2 separate regions of the Homo sapiens genome follow, and region 1 is linked to region 2. The links are contacts of gene promoters, found by promoter capture Hi-C in blood cells and fetal thymus (Javierre and others, 2016). All regions are on one chromosome and are shown on one strand. Each heading gives the region's core, a stretch centred on a gene start or on the middle of the fragment in contact. The rest is flanking DNA. Distances are from core to core; before and after follow the strand shown. Region 1 overlaps LOC100287290 (a long non-coding RNA gene). Region 2 holds the start of LXN (latexin).

Region 1 (3,439 bases), core at 659-3,158, 70 kb before region 2:
AAACTACAGTGTTTCAAACCGGCAGTTCCCTCTGTTTGCCATGTAATTCATCCCACACCCAGCACTTTACACAGAAGAGACTGAGCCAGTTTGAGTTGTTGAGCTGGGACTAGACCCCATGCCTTCTGACTCTCAGACCAGAGCTCTTTGCCCTGTACCATCCTTCTTAGTTCTTTAAGAATCAAGATAGAATTTCATTTTAGCCAACAATAATATCTCCTTATCCTAAAGCCTCATCATAATTCTGATATTTACCAGTGAAGAGAAAAACATGTTTACAGTGGCATTTGTTTCAAAAAAATAATCCAACCCAACTCACCCTGTGCACAGTAGGCTCTTTTCAAGGCTAGGTGTGCAGGGACTTTAGAGAACCCTCTAAGAGCAAATGCCCATTGCTGGGCTTCAAGGTTTTCCACCTTTTTCCTTTACTGCTAAGTAGCCACTGGCATGATTCCAGCCAGGTTCACTGCTGTTCTGTTTGGTCTTCCCTACAATTCATTCACTCGGCCCACACCTTCTGCCCAGACCAGTCTGCCCCTTGCTGCTCTCACAACTTGCTGACTCTTCTGAACGCCCACAAATCCAGCTTTTCTGCTTCTGGACTTGAAGATCCACCCACCGCACATTACATTCCATGGAACTAGGGGCAGGGTGGCTGAACAGAAGCCTGCACCAATCATCCTCCCTGCAGGAGCACCAAATTTTAACAACTAACCACACACACAAATCAGCACTGTCATAAGAACACTCCAAGGAATCAACCAACCTCTGTCTGTATGTATTCACGTATTCTAAGTCATCTAGGTGATTGTGTTGTCTATTTATTAGCCAGGTGATTTATCAGTACTTCTGTTTGCTCTCACTATTATATATATGCCCTGGTGTGCACCCTGTAGAAATAATGGTGAAGAGGGGAAAATAGAATGAGGGCTTTCTAACACACTGTCCTGTTATCTAGGCTGCCACATGTGGGAAAACGCCTTCCCCTGAGGTATGAAGAGTTGGTTTTGGTTTGCCTTGATAACATACTCTATGCAAATTTCACTGATGAACACCAGTGTCATAAACAGAATTGCATAGATCAATCACTCCAGAAAGTTCATGGCATACAAATATTAACAAGTGTTATGAATTTTCTTTGAAATTTTCTTTGAAGAACGTAAGATTCTAACTATTATTGCCGGAAAAAAAAAAAAACATTAAAATCCTTTATTTCACTCTGTAATGAATACACCATCTTCTCAAACAGGAAATAAGGTTTATGATTTCAAGCTTTATTTAAACACCCTTTGCTTGAAAAACTAAAACAGTCCCAATTTGTAATTTATTTTACATCTCAGTTTATAGATCACTTAGAAGAGTGTTAATTCATTCTTGGAATGGCAAATGTCCTGTCTTAAGTGACTGATGGAAAAACAAAATGCCATGCCAAATTCATCAGAAAATGTATAATTGAGCTATAAATACATTGTGTTCTTAACTAGCATGACATGCCAAAAATGACAGCTTACTTTGGAAAATTGCAAAATCCAACACATGGGGTACTGACCATTTTCACTTCATTACATTTGAAAGCCCATCTGTTGGCAATTACGTGTCAACATGGGCTTCTCAAATCCATGTAATCTAAATTACTTTTAGTTTTAAATGTGAACACATGGCAGGTTTTAAAAGAATTATTTCATGCCACCAGTAAGGGGAGCACAGAAATGTGTAACAGTTCTATTAATCAGCTCAAGCTTAGTAATATTTCTACATCAAAAGTAGTAGAGCAAATAGGCTGTCTCCATTGTGTACTTTGGCTAACAACCAGTATTGAGATCACCAAATAATTTAAATACAGGAAACGTGATGCTTTCCATCTTCTTTAGAAGCCACCAGTCTGGTTAGCCCAAATGCCACACACAAATGGTCCTAAGTTCCTGGCTGTTGAGTTTCTCCAGGACTACAGAGTCAGCCTCACAGGGGCCTGAAGTCCAACCAGGCTCCCTGAGATGTGGAGAAATGCCCATGTCAGAAACAAGGCTTTATCACTTCTTCCATAGCCCCCAGGTAAACCAGAAAAAAATGAAGCTTTCATTAATGGTGACAGAGACAGCTAGCTGTTCTTCTCTAAGAAATGATCTTTGAGGCCAGGCATGATGGCTCACGCCTGTAATCCCAGCACTTTGGGAGGCCGAGGCAGGCGGATTACCTGAGGTCAGGAGTTCAAGACCAGCCTGGCCAACATAGTGAAACCCCATCTCTACTGAAAATACAAAAAATTAGCTGGGTGTGGTGGTGGGTACCTGGAATCCCAGCTGCTCGGGAGGCAGAGGCAGCAGAATCGCTTGAACCTGGGAGGTGAGCCAAGATCACACCACTGCATTCCAGCCCGGGTGACAGTGTGAGACTCCATCTCAAGAAAAAAAAAAGAAAAAAAAGGAAATGATCTTTGAATATAGTTCTAAAGATTGAGTGACTTCTTCTGTATTCTTCTCTTCAAGTGAAATAATCTCAACTTACCTAACCACAAAGCCACATTTCCTGGCCCTTAATTCACTTTGCCACTGTAATCGAAACCCTTAAGTAAATCAGAGTCTACCCAATTGTGGAATGTACAAGCAGCACTTGGGTGGGCCATACCTGAGCTTGAATCTGTTCCGTGCTCCCTTCTTACTGATACAACCTCGACCAGTTACTTAATTCTCTGTGGCACCCAGTTTAGTCCTCAAACTTGTGGAGATTAAACAAGATTATTCTGTAAGAGAAAGCATATAGCATCATGTCTGAAACACAGCTCCACAAAATGTTACTTGCTCTTTCTCTTCCCAAACGAAGTACTATAGAGAAAAGTCAATTGTCTATAACTGTGCTGTATGATACAGTTATCATCAGACACCATGTAAATATATGTGGCTATGTATATTTAAATCTATTTAAATTAAATACAATTAAAAATTCTGTTCTTAGACTGCACTGGCCATAATTTAAGCACTTGGTAGCCACATGTAGCTGGTGCAGATATGGATCATTGTCATCAGAAAGCTCTCTTAGACAGGGCTGATTACCTTATCCCGTTGGGTGTTGACACTTCCAAACACATCCATGTCAGTGTCTACCTAAACTATGTCATGTGAAATCTTTCTACCTAAACTATGCCATGTAAAATCTTTCCTTGGTGACAGGAATAAATGCAATCACCCCGTTTTCTGTGGCATCTCTTTTAGAAAGAACCTCATCTCCAGTTCCGCATCCCCAAAGAATTCAGTCTCACTAGATTCAAGCTGGAAAGGCTTCTTCTTTAACCTCATAGATTCAGAAAACTCTAGTTAACTGTTCCATTGCAGCCCAAATCCAGATTCAAGGGTCATCTGCACTGCGACCTTTGCCTTCCTGCTGAGAGTCTGGTGGGCTGTGGGCATAATGCTGAAGGCTCCAAGCCCTGGCTCTTGCTCCT
Region 2 (3,397 bases), core at 48-2,547:
CCCCAAATCCCAGGAGACAATAATAAGCATGAAACTGAGGCCAAAGTCCAGAATCCAGATTTACTGCAGAATCTACATAATCAGAAAGAGATACACCTCAAGAGTCTTGGGTGTGTGCATTACTACCAAGTTAAAGGTCCTGGCCAGGCATGGTGGCTTATGCCTGTAATCCCAGCACTTTGGGAGGCTAAGGTGGGTGGATCACCTGAGGTCAGGAGTTTGAGACCAGCCTAGCCTAAACCCGTCTCTACTAAAAATACAAAAAACTAGCCGGGCATTGTGGTGGGCACCTGTAATCCCAGCTACTCTGGAGGCTGAGGCAGGAGAACTGCTTGAACCCAGGAGGCGGACGTTGCAGTGAGCCGAGATAGCACCATTGCACTCCAGCCTAGGCAACAAGAGTGAAATTCCATCTCAAAAAAAAAAAAAAAAAAAAGAAAAGAAAAGAAAAAAAGGTCTCAATCCAGGCAGCGAAGACCTTGGCCAAACTTTGGTAGAATCTCCAAGTTATCCTAGCCCAATTAACCTAAGACCACCAAGGATAAACCTGTACTTCTACAAAGTCAGGTTTATAGGCCCATTGCAATGAGGTAGACCACATACCAGAGAGAGTGCTTTGTATAAGTTCAGTTTTTAAGTTTATTTTAATCCTTGAAGTAAAATATTCAAAATGACTCAAGTTGGAAGCATGGCGTTACATCAAAACTTATCATTTTAAGATTAGTAAAGGAGAGGGGTACAGGTGCATTTTTTTATTTCTCCTGATCCAAATTACATAATCTCCCAATTTAATACTATAGTTTGCAGATTCTCATACTTTGATTTGGGCAGAACTGGTCCAAACCCACAAAAAGCTGAGGATGAGCAAGCCTCTTCCTGGACTCTCATAAGGGGAAGGGAAATGAAGGAATCGAATCACTACCTGGAGTACTGTGTACCTTGCCCTGCCAGGGACGCTGCATGCGGTGTATAAGGAAGTTGTGCTCCAGTATGCAAGCGAAGCAACCAGACTTTTTTCCCATGGACAGGAAACTAGAGTCTTCAGAGATGTCCTATATCAGCGAAAGCCCCACCCTGCACTTCTATAAAGGTTAATGAAACGAAAGATGCAATCCCAGCGAACCTAGCCCACTGACTCCCTCCCCACACCTCCACCTGCTGGTGCCTGACAAGCATGCTGGCCTCTCCTCCAGTAGGAACCAGCAGGCGGAGTAAGGAAGCCCGCTGCAGGCAGTAGTGGGGCGGGGCCTCAGAAGCAGTCAGCCCAGGGCTCTCGGATGCAGGGAGCCTGGGCCCAAACAGCAGCTTCCGGAGTCGGAAGGAGCTGAGGAAGAAGACTGACTGAAGGAGCTTGCGACTTTTCCGCCTCGGCAACCGGACCCAGCAGCAAGCAGGACGGGCGGCGCTCTGCTACTGGTCCCGTTAAGCCAGAGTAGCCCAAGCCCTGAAGTCACTGCTCATCCGGAATGGAAATCCCGCCGACCAACTACCCAGCCTCCAGGGCGGCCTTGGTGGCACAGAACTACATCAACTACCAGCAGGGGACCCCGCACAGGGTGTTTGAGGTGCAGAAGGTCAAACAAGCCAGCATGGAGGTGAGTTTAGCAGGGGGTGGTGGACAGCAGAGGCTTCAGGATTGCGCTCCCTCCACTCACCCGCGGTCTCAGCCTTTGGGTGCAGACACTCCGTGCCACCCCCTACCCACCTTCTGTTTTAGGACACACTGCTGGTATCTGGTCTTGAGATATTAAGGTTTCTGGGGGAATGTCTATACTCCAGTCTCTGGAGACAGCCCGGGACTGTTTTCACCTTAAGGCAGAGACAAAGTTTTTACGCACACAGTTACAAGAAAACGGGAACACGCTCTAGGTAAGGGGCAGCACTTTCCTTAAGTGTAAACTGTAGAAACCATTCAAAAGACTACTAAGGCTGCCACGTTTCTCATCTGCTACTCTGATCTGGACCAACAAAAGCTCCCATCTTCCAAGACTCTATTGCCTACATTTTAAGACAAATCCTTATCAGACCCTTTGACCAAAATGAAGGGGGAAACAAACAGCAAGAGAAACTGACAATCAAAGTCAAAGAATAAAAGCACTGTGGGCTGACGCTGGCCTTTAGCCACCCAAACACCGCTACCACATGACTGCCTTAAATGATGTGCACCCTCTGCTAAAGGCTTGAATTAAATGTTTAAGGCCTCAGCAATCACTAACGAGGTTTGTTTTCATTTTACGAAAATCTACTGGATTTGAGATTATCCCTTATTTATCTGACAGAATTTTAACTGCTAACAGTCTTTTAGAGGTGACACAGTAGATCTTATTTTGAAACTGTACCAGATAACAGAATTAGGTATAAATTTTCAATCTGTATCTTGATTTAAAAGTGAAATACCATTTCTTAGTCTTATATAATTTGTTAATCATTTTGCAGTTTCACTAATGTATAAGTAAAAACAATACTTAATTGTATTAAGTCTCCAATTGCTTTGCAGTAATCTGCCTCAAAATGAAATTCACATTCATTGAACATTATTTGGAGGGTACACTGAGCTTTATGAAAAAATCTTTTCAAAGGTGATATTGTCATCTTTAGAATTAAACGCTGTTTCAAACTTTCTTATGTAGAGACTTTAAGATCACAGATCCAGGGGTTAAATAAAGTCTTTTGATGATTGAAAGTGAATTGTGCCCAATTTGTATGCTTTTATCCTACTCTTTTGTTTTCATCCAAAATAAACTTGATAGGGGACTTGCTAAATTAGATGTTACATTCATGGTGACATGCCTTTTTCAAGACCTAAGGCTTTCACCATTCCCCTTCAGCCAGCCCCTCCAACCAAATGAGATGCATACTTCTAACAATGCAAGTATAATGTTGTTATAATATTTTCTTGTCTCCACTACATTTTCTTAATTTTAGGATATTCCAGGAAGAGGACATAAGTATCACCTTAAATTTGCTGTTGAAGAAATTATACAAAAAGTAAGTTAAATTTCTTTTTTCTTTGAGACAGGGTCTCACTCTATCACCCAGGCTGAAGTGCAGTGGCAGAACATGGCTCACTGCAGCCTCAACTTCCCGGGCTCAGGCCATCTTCCCACCTCAGCCTCCCCAAATAGCTGGGACCACAGGTGCATGCCACTACACCTGGCTAATTTTTGTGATCCTCCTGCCTCTGCCTCCCAAAGTGCTAGGATTACAAGCATGAGCTACCAAGCCCAGCCAAAATGTTCTTATTAAACAAATTTAATTCTAAATATTCCAGATCATCTTTGCTGATCAAATCTGTAAGATTGATTAGTTTTACCTCTTTTTAAAAAGTTGTTGTGAAATACCTGCCTCTGAAAAACACTGACCATATGGGCAAAGTTTACAAGGATCAGTTCTTTAC

Evidence for each region. The method cuts DNA at HindIII sites, captures the fragments that hold promoters and counts their contacts. A CHiCAGO score of 5 or more calls a contact.
Region 1: a fragment that was not itself captured here is called in contact with the fragment with the promoter of LXN in region 2 in 1 of 17 cell types (erythroblasts); the score reaches 7.6 in erythroblasts.

Annotation. Positions count from the first base shown.
Region 1 is chr3:158,741,331-158,744,769 of GRCh38, reverse strand. It overlaps LOC100287290 (a long non-coding RNA gene), which reads right to left. Exons shown (of 5, transcript NR_171782.1): 4 at 2,626-2,740. Among named protein-coding and RNA genes, the nearest start is that of RARRES1, 11 kb to the right of the region's middle. The HindIII fragment of the contact is 334 bases long and covers 1,742-2,075 here.
Region 2 is chr3:158,670,548-158,673,944 of GRCh38, reverse strand. LXN (latexin) reads left to right here and starts at 1,297. Exons shown (of 6, transcript NM_020169.4): 1 at 1,297-1,595; 2 at 2,926-2,988. The coding sequence starts at 1,467. The region is part of intron 13 of GFM1 (G elongation factor mitochondrial 1); the gene reads right to left. RefSeq lists enhancers at 924-1,113, 1,424-1,473, 895-1,487, 1,914-1,973, 1,488-2,080. The HindIII fragment of the contact is 4,555 bases long and covers 1-3,397 here.